Regions from separate parts of the Homo sapiens genome. Here region 2 is linked to region 1. Evidence: promoter capture Hi-C in 16 types of primary human blood cells and fetal thymus (Javierre and others, 2016). All regions are on one chromosome and are shown on one strand. The core of a region is centred on a gene start or on the middle of the fragment in contact, and the rest is flanking DNA. Distances in the headings are between cores, read along the strand shown.

The links. Contacts are between HindIII fragments. The CHiCAGO score rates a contact against its expected background, and 5 or more counts as called.
Region 2: a contact is called between the fragment with the promoter of ZNF155 here and the fragment with the promoter of ZNF180 in region 1, in 13 of 17 cell types (total CD8 T cells, total B cells, neutrophils and 10 more). The highest score is 13.2, in total CD8 T cells.

What each region holds. Positions count from the first base shown.
Region 1 is chr19:44,497,998-44,503,714 of GRCh38, reverse strand. ZNF180 (zinc finger protein 180) reads left to right here and starts at 3,193. Exons shown (of 5, transcript NM_001278509.3): 1 at 3,193-3,440. RefSeq lists enhancers at 2,738-2,787, 2,964-3,258, 3,098-3,307, 3,318-3,377, 2,924-3,424 and 2 more. The HindIII fragment of the contact is 10,008 bases long and covers 1,621-5,717 here.
Region 2 is chr19:43,981,158-43,987,209 of GRCh38, reverse strand. It overlaps ZNF155 (zinc finger protein 155), which reads right to left and starts at 3,022. Exons shown (of 5, transcript NM_198089.3): 1 at 2,965-3,022. It also overlaps a transcript of ZNF221 not described here. RefSeq lists a silencer at 3,126-3,325. The HindIII fragment of the contact is 8,717 bases long and covers 1-6,052 here.

The sequences.
Region 1 (5,717 bases), core at 1,944-4,443:
CAGGGTCTGGCTCTGTCGCTGAGGCTGGAGTGTAGTAGCATAATCTTGGTTCACTGCAACCTCTGCTTCCTGGGCTCAGGCAATCCTTCCTGCCTCAGCCTCCTGAGTAGCTGGGACTACAGCTTGTGCCACCAGGCCCAGCTAATTTTTGTATTTTTTGTAGAGACGGGGTTTCACCATGTTGCCCAGGCTGGTCTCAAACTCCTGGGCTCAAGTGATCCTCCTGCTCCGGCTTCCCAAAGTGTGGGGATTACAGGCGTGAGCCACTGCGCCCAGCAGTGGTAACTCTTCTAAAGTCCCTGTAATATTCAGGTTAAGTCAGGATTTATAGGTTCCTGGAAGTAAACATTACCACCTTGTTCATTGTGAAAGAAAATAAAAAAGACTAAACAAAAGACAGATAAACAAAGTCAGTTTTACATTACATAGTACTAACGCTTTATTTTCTGAAAATTGTTTTTTTTTTTTGAGATGGAGTCTTGCTCTGTTGCCCAGGATGGAGTGTAGCAACGTGATCTTGGCTCATTGCAGCCTCTGCCTCCCAGGTTCAAGCGATTCTTCTGCCTCAGACTCCTGAGTAGCTGGGATTACAGGCGTGCATCACCATGCCTGTCTAATTTTTGTATTTTTTAAGTAGACACAGAGTTTTGCCATGTTGGCCAGACTGGTCTTGAACTCTTGACCTCATGATTGGCCTGCCTTAGCCTCCCAAAGTACTAGGATTACAGGTGTGAGCCACTGCGCCTGGCCTATTTTCTGAATATCTTAAACAATTAGCAGAAAAATAAATGAAGTGAAAAAAGGAAGACGACCTAACACTCAAAGCATCCCATTCTGATTTTGTCATATTTGTATTTGCAGATCAATCTGCAAGATTTTACATCTTTACAACACACAGCTAGCAACACAGCATTTCTATTTGTCCATTTTTCTCTCTCAGTAAGGTTTTGAGGGTTTCTTCAGATGACATATTTATCTTACTAAATTTACTTATAAGGCTTTTTTTTTTTGCTTTTTTGTGAATACATACGAACTTTTTCTGTTTTGTTTGCAAACTTAGTATTGCTTGCACGTAGAGGAAAGATACTGATGTGTAGACAAGCGGCAACATAATGTAAAAGTTAAGAGCATGGACTCTAGAGTTCAACATCTTGGTCTCAAATGCACAACATAGGTGGAAATACAGATGAAACAAGACTGAGTGAAAATATTTAAGTTGGATGACATAGGTCTTGGGGAGTCATTAATTGAGTCCCTACTTTTGTTTTGAAATTTACAAAATAAAAGGTTAAAAAAATAAGCTACTTACTTCAATGTAGAAACCGATGTCACATTTAACCCTCAAACTTCAGAGATATGTCCATTAAAAGAACACAAACAAGAATGCCTCTTTTAGTAATACTTTTTTGGAAATGGTAGCCAATATAATCCAACATGAAAGAGAATGTCTAATTTAAAATACTGGTAAGGAAAAGATGAAATTGTAGATAACTGTCTCAATAGAAAAGCCAAGAGAGTCAACTGGAGTATTGTAAGAATTAATAACATTGCAGTAGGTTAACCAGATACAAAATAAGTATTTTTTAAAAGATCAACCACAATAACCAATAATAAGAAGCTTTGGGGATAGAGATTACATTTCAAATAGTAATAATTCATTGTTTTTAAAGGTCAGAATTTACGTGAAGAAAACTACAGGAGTGCTTTGACAAGCATTTTAAAAACTAAAAAATTATGTATTTTCATACAGCAGGGCTCCAATTTTCAGCTACCTCCCTGGTAGGATGAAAATTAACACAACTACCTCATAGGCTGATTGGGCTTGGTAATGAAATATTAAAGTGTTTAATACAGAGACAGGAACCTTTATTTAGCCAACGAATATTTATTGAGCATCTATTATGTGCCAGGTCTCTCTCTTTTTTTTTTTTTTAGGTGTTGGGGATGCAGCAGTGATCAACATCGATAAAATGCTTTTCCTTATGGAATTGACATCGTAGTGGTAGGTCGGACAGTAGACCAAATAAATAATTAAAATATATAGTGTGCTAGATAGTGAAAAGTTCTTTAGAGAAAAAAATAAAAGATGAAGGGGGAGGCACAGAGCATGTGGGGAGGGAAGCGTTTGCTTGCAAGTTCACAACGGGTGGTGGGGCAATGCCTCATGAGAAGATGATATTCCCCTAATTACCAGACGGTGAGAGCCAAATGAATCCCTCAGGAGAGGCTGCTAGGGAGTGCAAAGAGCACCTGCAAACGACCAGGGGCTGGAGTCTGCTGGATCTGTTGGAGAATGGGGAAAATGTGCCAAGCAAATGGGCAAGAAATGAGGGCAAAGAGAAAAGGGGACTACGCCTGTAATCCCAGCACTTTGGGAGGCCGAGGGCGGATCACCTGAGGTCAGGAGTTGGAGACTAACCTGGCCAACGTGGTGAAACCCCGTCTCTACTAAAAATACAAAAATTAGCCGGGCGTGGTGGCTGGCGCCTGTAATCCCAGCTATTCAGGAGGCTGAGGCAGGAGAATCGCTTGAATCCGGGAGGTGGAGGTTGCAGTGAGCCGAGATCGCGCTATTGCCCTCCAGCCTGGGCGACAAGAGCGAAATTCCGTCTCAAAACAACAAAACAAAACAAAACAAAAACAGAGAAAAGGGGAGAGGTGGGGGGAACAGATCCTTCAGGCCTTATAGGCAGAGAAAGAACTCAAAATTTAAAAATAAAATGATTATATTTTAGTATTATTAAATGTAAAAACATAGATTCCTGAAGGGTTCGGTAGACGCTCCCTCCACTGTAAAATGGGGATGTCGCAACTGTCTCACAGGTTTCCCCTAGGACTAGAGGAGACAAGGGGTCGCGCGCAGCGTCTGACAGGCAGGGGGCACCCAGAAAGGGTCCCCGCCATTTCTATTGGATTCTGACGTCACGCCAGAGCGACTCCCCATGCGTCGCTGCACTGGCCTCGGCCTCCCGGCGCCGCGGCTGGTCTTAGTGCTCCCCCTAGACCTGCACATGCACAGGTGTGGCGCCCCCCCGGGCCCCGGACGAGGACGCCCTCTTAGCTTCTGGCCCGGTCCCCCGCCCCACTTCCTTGGAGAAGCCGGAACCCCGCCTACTGACCGTCCGCGCCGCGGAGGCTTCTGGGAATTGTAGTTCTGGCTCTCCGAGCCCAAGTGCACTTCCGGGTTCGGCCACAAGAGCAGCCATTGTCCCGCGCGCGGACGCTTGCTGTCGCCGAGCAGCTCGGCCCTTCAGACTTAACCCCCAGCGGCCTTGCGGATGCTGACTAGGAGAGGGGACCGAACTAGCTTAACCCGAGTCGGCCGTGTTGCAGAATCGGGGCAGGGGGTTGCCTAACCCGAGTTCGTCCTGCCGCAGAGCCGTGCTAGGCACTGAGGCGGTGACAGGCCCAGCCTGGGCTGCGGGCCAGCGGACGCCCAGGTTGGTAGGGGCGTGGGGCAGCGCTTGGTGTCCGATGCGCGCATGCGCAGGGTCTACGCGGGAAGCTGGAAGCGGTGGTGAGTGTAGCGGGGAGACCTGGTATCTGTGCGGGTGGCGCTTTAGCCTCGGGTCACCGGGGTTGATGGAGTTACTGATACAGCTGTATATTCCGCGACTGTCCTCTGCGTGCATGCGCGGGTGCTTGGTCAGGTGGTGCTCTTGTCTGGGGCCTGAGGATGCCCAGGTTGCTGGAACACAGGGCACATGCATTGATGTAAGGGGACATCTTGAGAACTCCCCTCCTCCAATGCCGGGCTTATTTAGTGGAGGCCTGAGGATGTCCGGGTTGATGGAGTGCTCCATTGCAGATTGTGGTTTCTGGAGAGGAGGGGCTGTGCCACTGTCCCTTTACTCTTGATCAGGTATTTGGGTAGGAAGCAAAAGGTTGTAGGTAAGATTCCGAGCAGGTGGCTCTGGGCCCCTAGAGCAGACAACGCGCTTCTCCAAGGTCTGGGGGCGCTGTGGTTGGTGGAGAGACCAGATTGGAGTTGCAGATTCTTGTGCCAGAAGAGGCAGTGTTGCTAGTGAACCCTTGGTGGGAATTACCCATGGGCAGCAAACTCCCAGGCTGAAGGAGGGTATCAGGGCCTAGAAACAGGTTCTGGGCAGAGGGCCCCCTGCACGTCCTGGGGGTGTCTGAATGGAAAACAGAAACTTGAACTGATAGTAGGGACCTATGTAGGATAGTGCAGAGCTCTAGAGCATTCAAGATGGGCAGAGACTCCGGGTTGGAGATACAGAATTTAAGTCCAGGAAGGACAGAGCTGCAACAGCTGCCATCAAATTGGTAGCTGGGGAGGAAGCAGTATGTTGCCAGCATCGTTATGAAGCAGGTGTTGCTGAGACCTTTACTTGGGTACGCTATTTGCAGGCGTGAGAATGTGCAGGTTAGTAGAGGGACAGAGCCTGTGCTGCAGATTTGGTCCCGGGAAGAGCTGACTGCACAACACCCAGGCCGTCATGATTGGGCAAGAGAAGGACAAAGGGCCCAGTTCCCATTGAGCTGCTGTATCGTAGGCTCGAGAACCCCCACGCTGGCGAGTGCCCAAGTCCTGGGGCTGATTATGGAGCTGTATGCTCAAGCTACTGTTTAGTTGTTGTAGTGTCCTGGCTGCGGGCAAATAGTGGGGCAGTTGACCCCAGAACCTACACAGAGGCTGTGGGTACCTGAGATGTCCCAGGCAGGTTGAGACACAGGGTGAGGGATGTAGATTGTTGACTCAGGAGCATGGTGTGCCCCCAGACGGGCAGAGGAGCCAGGTCCTGGATGCAGATTGTGAGCACGAACCTGCTCTGTGGCTGTATCAGTAGGAGGGAGTCTAGGTGGGTGGCCCGTGTGCAGTGGCTGTGGAATAGAGGCCTGGGGGCTCCAGTTTGGATCTGGTCTTAGGAGGCACGGGGCTGCTCCAGCAACACTCTGCACGTGTGCTGGCATTTGGGCAGATTGGGGAGGCATGGGCAGTCCTAGGACCCTGATTCTGCCTGAGGATGCCCAGGTGTGTGGGGGGGAGCAGCTGCAGAGGGGCGGGACTGTGTCAGGCACCCCTTGTGCACACACACCGGTGTTTGGTTGGGAAACAGGAGGCCGGAGATGAGTTTTAGACAGAGGGTGCTGGGGTCTTTGTGTGATTGGAACCCTGATCACAGCCTGATGGTGCCCAGTTTGGTGGAAAGACAGGATCTTCCTGAGCCACAGGTGCCCCCGAAAGATGTTTGGTCAGAATCTGGGCAGGTGTGGCTCAAGCAGGGGGCTGTGGAGTAAGGTGGAGGAAACAGTTTGGGTGCAATTTCAGGAAACAGCTGCATTGTGAACCTACGCTATGCTGCGTGAGAATATGGTGGGAGCAGGGGAGAGAGTAAGTGGGAGAGATGGAGTGCAGAGGGTGGGGTGCCTAGGGTAGGATTTGCCCTCTAGTCTTGGATCCCAAAACACCTAGTTGGTACAGAGGCACCTGAGCTTCTGAGACATGTATTTAGAGCCTGGGTAGGGCTGCTTTTGTCTGGCTTGTGCTGGTGTCTGTTGGAGGCCCCCAGCCCTATGCAGGCCTTGTTGTAGTTTCAGGCCTGAGTATACCCAAGTTGGTGGAGGGACTGGTTTAGAGCTACAAATTCAGGGCCTGGGAGGGTGTTAGGGTGGGAATCTGGCTGGTGCTGTTCGAGTAGGAGCCAGTGGACCCCAGAAGTGTGGAGGGAACAGGATGTGGGTATAGCTGAGCT
Region 2 (6,052 bases), core at 1,773-4,272, 520 kb after region 1:
GGAACCACATATGAGATAACATGATGTTATGGAATATGCTATCTAGCACTATCTAATTATAACACTATAAGCACAATTAGTAGTTTTTTAAACAGATATCTAATATTTAATAAATATCATTTAATATGATATCTTAATATTGTCTAGCATGTTACGTGAGACCCTATAACCTGCCCTTTCTAAACACCTCTTACCAAGTCACCCCATGATCACCATGGAATGTGGGCTTCCTTGCTGCAGAAATCTACAATCGTCTCTGGTTACAGATATGTTCCTGGTAGTATTTGGCTGATGGCCACCAACAAAGCAAACAGGAAAAATGTAAACAATCGGCAAATTTGGGTAAAGAGTATATGAGAATTCCTTATACTATTTTTGCAACTCTTCTACAGCTTTGAAATGATATAAAAATGAAAGGTTTTCAACTATCAGGAAATAGTCATAAGGATGATAACAATGGGGGCTGGGCGCCGTGGCTCACACCTGTAATCTCAGCACTTTGGGAGGCCGAGGTGGGCGGATCACAAGGTCAGGAGATCGAGACCATCCTGGCTAACACAGTGAAACCTCGTCTCTACTAAATATACAAAAAAATAGCCGGGCATGGTGGCCGGCACCTGTAGTCCCAGCTACTCAGGAGGCTGGGGCAGGAGAATGGTGTGAACCCGGGAGGCGGAGCTCACAGTGAGCCGAGATCGCACCACTGCACTCCAGCCTAGGTGACAGAGCGAGACTCCGTCTAAAAAAAAAAAAAAAAAAACACAAATGGGAATAATATTGGATGAGCATGACATAATATGGCAGTTTACTAGTTTATTCTCTATTAGCAGTATTTAAAAATTTCCATAGTTAAAGAAATATGGGAAAACACATTAAGATATTATAACAATTTTTTTAAATGCTTATAAATAAATATACAATAGACACAGAGAAAGACTAAAAAGAAACGGAGGAGAACTGGAAGTTCCATCTCTTGTATCAGACAGTTAGCACCTTCACATCTTGGATTCATGGGTAATTTAAAACATGTTTTCTCCTCCTATTAATCTAATTTTAAAATGCTCCACAATGATATGGTTCCACAATACAAAATCCTTATAAAAAGTGAAACAGGATGTTGACAAATTTTTAAAAGACTCCTACAGAAGTCCAAGTCTATGAGCCTTGCTCTCAAGGTCCCTTCAATCAAGTCCTAACTCTCTTTCCCCACCTGATTCCAGCTAGTTCCTCTACCTCAATGAAAATGTATCCAAGGGATGATCAACTCAGGCTCTGACCCAAACTGCCTAGGTTCCAGCTCCAGCTGTACCTCATTCTACTGGGAACTAAGCACCAGGTGTCTCACTCCCATATTTAAAATGGAAAAGAGCGACCGGGCGCGGTGGCTCACGCCTGTAATCCCAGCATTTTCGGAGGCCAAGGCGGTCGGATCACGAGGTCAGGAGTTTCAGACCAGCCTGACCAAAACGGTGAAACCCCATCTTTACTAAAAATACAAAAATTAGCTGGGCGTGGTGGTGCGCACCTGTAATCCCAGCTACTTAGGAGGCTGAAGCAGGAGAATCGCCTGAACCTGGGAGGCGGCCTATTGCACTGAGCCCAGATCGCGCCACTGCACTCTAGCCTGGGCGACAGAGCGAGACTCCGTCTCAGGAAAAAAAAAAAAAAAAAAAAAAGAAAAAGAGCAATACCTTTCCACAGAGCCATGGTGTGGCGTAAATGTATTTATTTCCATAAAGCCCTTAGAATTAAGTTACCAATTAAGGTTTAATTATTATCAACACCCATGCCCAAGGACACATCCTATACACTCTTGGTTGAGGTGAACATCTCTGTAAAAGAAAAAACCGGCCCGGCGCGGTGGCTCACACCTGTAATTCCAGCACTTTGGGAGGCCGAGGCAGGCGGATCACTTAGGACCACAGGTTCGAGACCAGCCTGGCCAACATGGTGAAACCCCGTCTCTACTAAAAATACAAAAATTAGCCGGGCATGGTGACGCATGCCTGTAATCCCAGCTACTCCGGAGCTGAGGACAGAGAATCGCTTGAACCCAGGAGGCGGAGGTTGCAGTGAGCCAAGATCGCGCCACTGCTGCACTCCAGCCTGGGAGACAGAGCAAACCTCATTCTCAAATAATAACAATAATAAAAACAGACTAACAAAATAAATAACTTTTTTTTAAAAAGAGAAAAGCCAAAGACCACTCGTGTAGACAGCTTTGTCCTCAGTAGCCAAGTCCCTCCCTGCAGCTCTTTTAGAAAAGTCAGGCTGGGGAAGGAGAAAGCTGTCAAACACTCTGCGTCGCCGTCCCGGATACAAGTTAAATGCTCCTCTCCCTTCGTGAAACGTGGATGCAACCCACGCCTTCCTAAAAAGAGGTCAGAGGCGTCCGGGATCATCCAGAGCCCTGCCGGGCTCCAAGAGAAGGGCCGGAGCAGCTGGAGCTCTGACCCCACCCGGGCACCTGACCACTTCGCGGGAAATTAACAGGACACCAAGTGACAGGAGCTGTTAAGTCTTTGTTTTATACCACAACTTTCAACTCCTAAAACAATTCTATCAGGATGGTCCTGAAATCCTCATTTAAAAAACGGCAATGGGAGGTACAGGGAGATTAAGTAACACCCCACGTTATATCGCGAGAAAGAGGTCGCACACTTAAGAGTGGAGGGAGGCGGACTGAACGAGGTCAAACACCTGGAAAACCCTCTAAACAGGCACACAAGACTAGACAGAGTTCTTCCCCGCCCCCCCCGAACCCCCGACGACTCCTCCGGTGGACCTGAGTACAGCCCCCAACGCCAGAAGGCTCCATCGACGGCAACGAAACTTCCCTCCCACCCCTCGCATCTCCAAACCTCAGGTCTTCTCCAGGGCTTCTTACCCCCTTAGTTGACCCCCCAGGTCGTTAGGCGCCCCTAATAACTGGTTCACTTTCGCAAAGACCCGCAAGACACATACTTGGCTCAAACCACCTTGTTAAGTAGCAGTGTCCTGCTCGGAGACCGGAAGTGTCGATGATGCCACAGGCGTCTGGACTACACTTCCCAGAATCCCCCGAATCCGCCTGCCTGAGCCAAAGTTCCCACGACTCCACAGAGCAAATGGACTCCACTTCCCAGAATTCACAGGTCCTCCTGCCTGGGCCAAAATTCCCACGCCTCCCAAGCTACTCGCGAAACGCCTGCGGGAGCCAAATTTCCTGCGCATCGACCGGGCAATTAGACTCCCGCAGGCGTTTCGCTGGTATCTTGGGAAATGGAGTCCATTTGCTCTGTGGAGGCGTGAGAATTTTGGCTCAGGCAGGTGGACCTGTGAATTCTGGCCTATCAACCTATATTTTTATTTTAAAAAAATGGAGTCTCATGTTCTATATCAATTTTTCTAAACTAAAAAAGAATACTTTTCATGGTTTTCTTTAGATAAAGTGACTGTGCCAACCACAGTATGAGGAACACTTCTCTGAAAATTGAGTGACTGCTATTTCTAAACCAGTTACAGCTGTATCCTTGCTCTGTTCTGCCCTCCCAAGAGATAAAAATTTATTGACACGCTCAATCGTAGTAGGCAGGAAACTGTGCCTAATATATTAGGGTATATCTGGCATCAAAGGCCCTTTCTGTCCCCCAGGTCCTTGCACTCTGGGCCTGTGATGGGAGGAGAAGCTGCCATAATCTGTGAAATGCCTTTGGGGTCATTCTTCCATTGTCTTGGACAATAGGTCCTGGCTTCAGTTGACATGGCCAATCCATACTAAATTCATGAATTAGTTAGTTGCTTAACCATACCCTTGTATTCTTCAGGTTTCCTGTTTTTTTTTTTTTCCAAAGTAGATAGGCTGTAAACTTTTAAAAATTTTAGTTCTGTTTCCCTTTTAATTAATAATTATTTCAGTCATTCCTCACTTCGTGCCTTTCACTACGGGTAGTCAAGATGATTCAAGCAACTTCAACACTTTGATTAGAAATTAATTCAGATAAACAATTATATCATTCACAAATTCTACCTTCCATAAAACACTAGCACCTGAATATAATTCAGCCAAATTCTTTGTCCCTTTATAACAAGAAGCTCTCTTCTCTTCCAATAACATGTTCAACATTTCTGACTGAGGTCTTCAGAATGGCCTTTACTGTCCATATTTCTACCAACATTCTGATCATGACTACCTAGGTATGCTCTAACAAGATTGATGTTTTCTCTACAGTTCTTATTCTCTATTTCTGAGCGCTAACCAGAATTGTCCTTATCAGTCCATTCATGGCAATGTAGGCTTTTCCTAGCATACATGTAAAAACTCTTCTAGACTCTATCCATTACATAGTTCCAAAGACTGCTACATTTTTAGGTATTTGTTGCAGCAGCAAGCCCACCTCTCAGTACCAATATTTTTTAGTCACAAAATATCATAGCCTGCCTGGCTTTTATTTTATTTTATTTTATTTTATTTTATTTTATTTTATTTTATTTTATTTTATTTTTGAGACGGAGTCTTGCTCTGTCGCCCAGGCTAGAGTGCAGTGGCGCGATCTCGGCTCACTGCAAGCTCTGCCTCCCAGGTTCATGCCATTCTTCTGTCTCAGCCTCCCGAGTAGCTGGGACTACAGGTGCTCGCCACCATGCCCGGCTAATTTTTTTGTATTTTTGGTAGAGAAGAGGTTTCACCGTGTTAGCCAGGATGGTCTCGATCTGACCTTGTGATCCGCCCACCTCGGCCTCCCAAAGTGCTGGGATTACAGGCGTGAGCGACCACGCCCGGCCGGCTTTTAAGCAACAGAAATCTATTCTTCACAGATCTGGAAACTGGGATCCAAGATCAAAGCACTGGCAGATTTTGTGTCAGGTAGTTGGCCACTTTCTTGTTCATAGTTAGCACCATATTGCTGTGTCTTCATTTGGTTGAAGTGACAAACAAGCTCCTTCTGGCATTTTTTATAAGGGTATTCATCCCGTGACCTAATCACCCTCCAAAGGCCCCACCTCCTATTACCATCACATTGAGGGTAAAAATTACAATATATGGATTTTGGTGGGCCACAAACATTAAGACCATTGCATACGCATCATGCAGTGTCAGAGTTACTAATTCATATCATTGTAAAAAACAATGCAAAAGTAGAGTTCAACATTTTTTATAGTTCTTTTTGTCTTTAGACTGAGGATATATAGTCAAACACTGTACTGTTTAATAAGTTGCTTAAATTACTTCTTGCTGTCACCTTTAGACTGTTTATGTTATTGATTTGAAATACATTTAGGTTAATTTGTTATTCTATGATTTTCACTTTCCTAGTTTATCTACAAAGAAATCTCATTCTTGATTTTATATTATTGGGTATGTCAGTCATCAACATGTTCCCATGAGTCAATGCTCTACCACATATTATTCTCAGAGAAGTGCCACTCCCCTCCTTCCTACCCCTAAACCAATTCCACAGTGTTGCCACCTAACACCTTTATGTAACTAATTTTATTATTTTCATTACCACTTTTTTTTAACAGAATAGATGTGTTTCTTATTTTTCCTTTTTACTTAAATGTTAGGATAGTACACTTCTAATTCTTCTATATTCACATAATAACATCTTGGAAATCATGTCATATGGAGTAATTTATTTTTAAAACTGCATAAATTCCATTGAGTGGTTTATATAACAGTGCTGCAATTTATGGACATTTCAGTGACTTCCAATATTTTATTATTACAAATGATGCTGTTATAAATACACTTGTACATTTGTATATTATCCCTGTTGAAGATACATCAGAAGAGTACATCCCAGAAAGCAGGATTGAAAAGTGAAGATATTAATAGAAATTTTGTTGCATATTGTCAAGTTGCCTTAATTTTTTGGTACCATTTCCATTTGCAGAAGTAATGTATAAATATACTCTTGCCTTGAAACTAGCTAACAAAATGTGTTATTACAACATTTTTAAAGTTTTGCCAATCAAATGGTAAGAAGTGTATTTAAATTTAGTTTTAATTTATATTTCTTGTTTTTTAAATAACATAGAACATTTTTGCATATTTCCTGTGTCAATATTA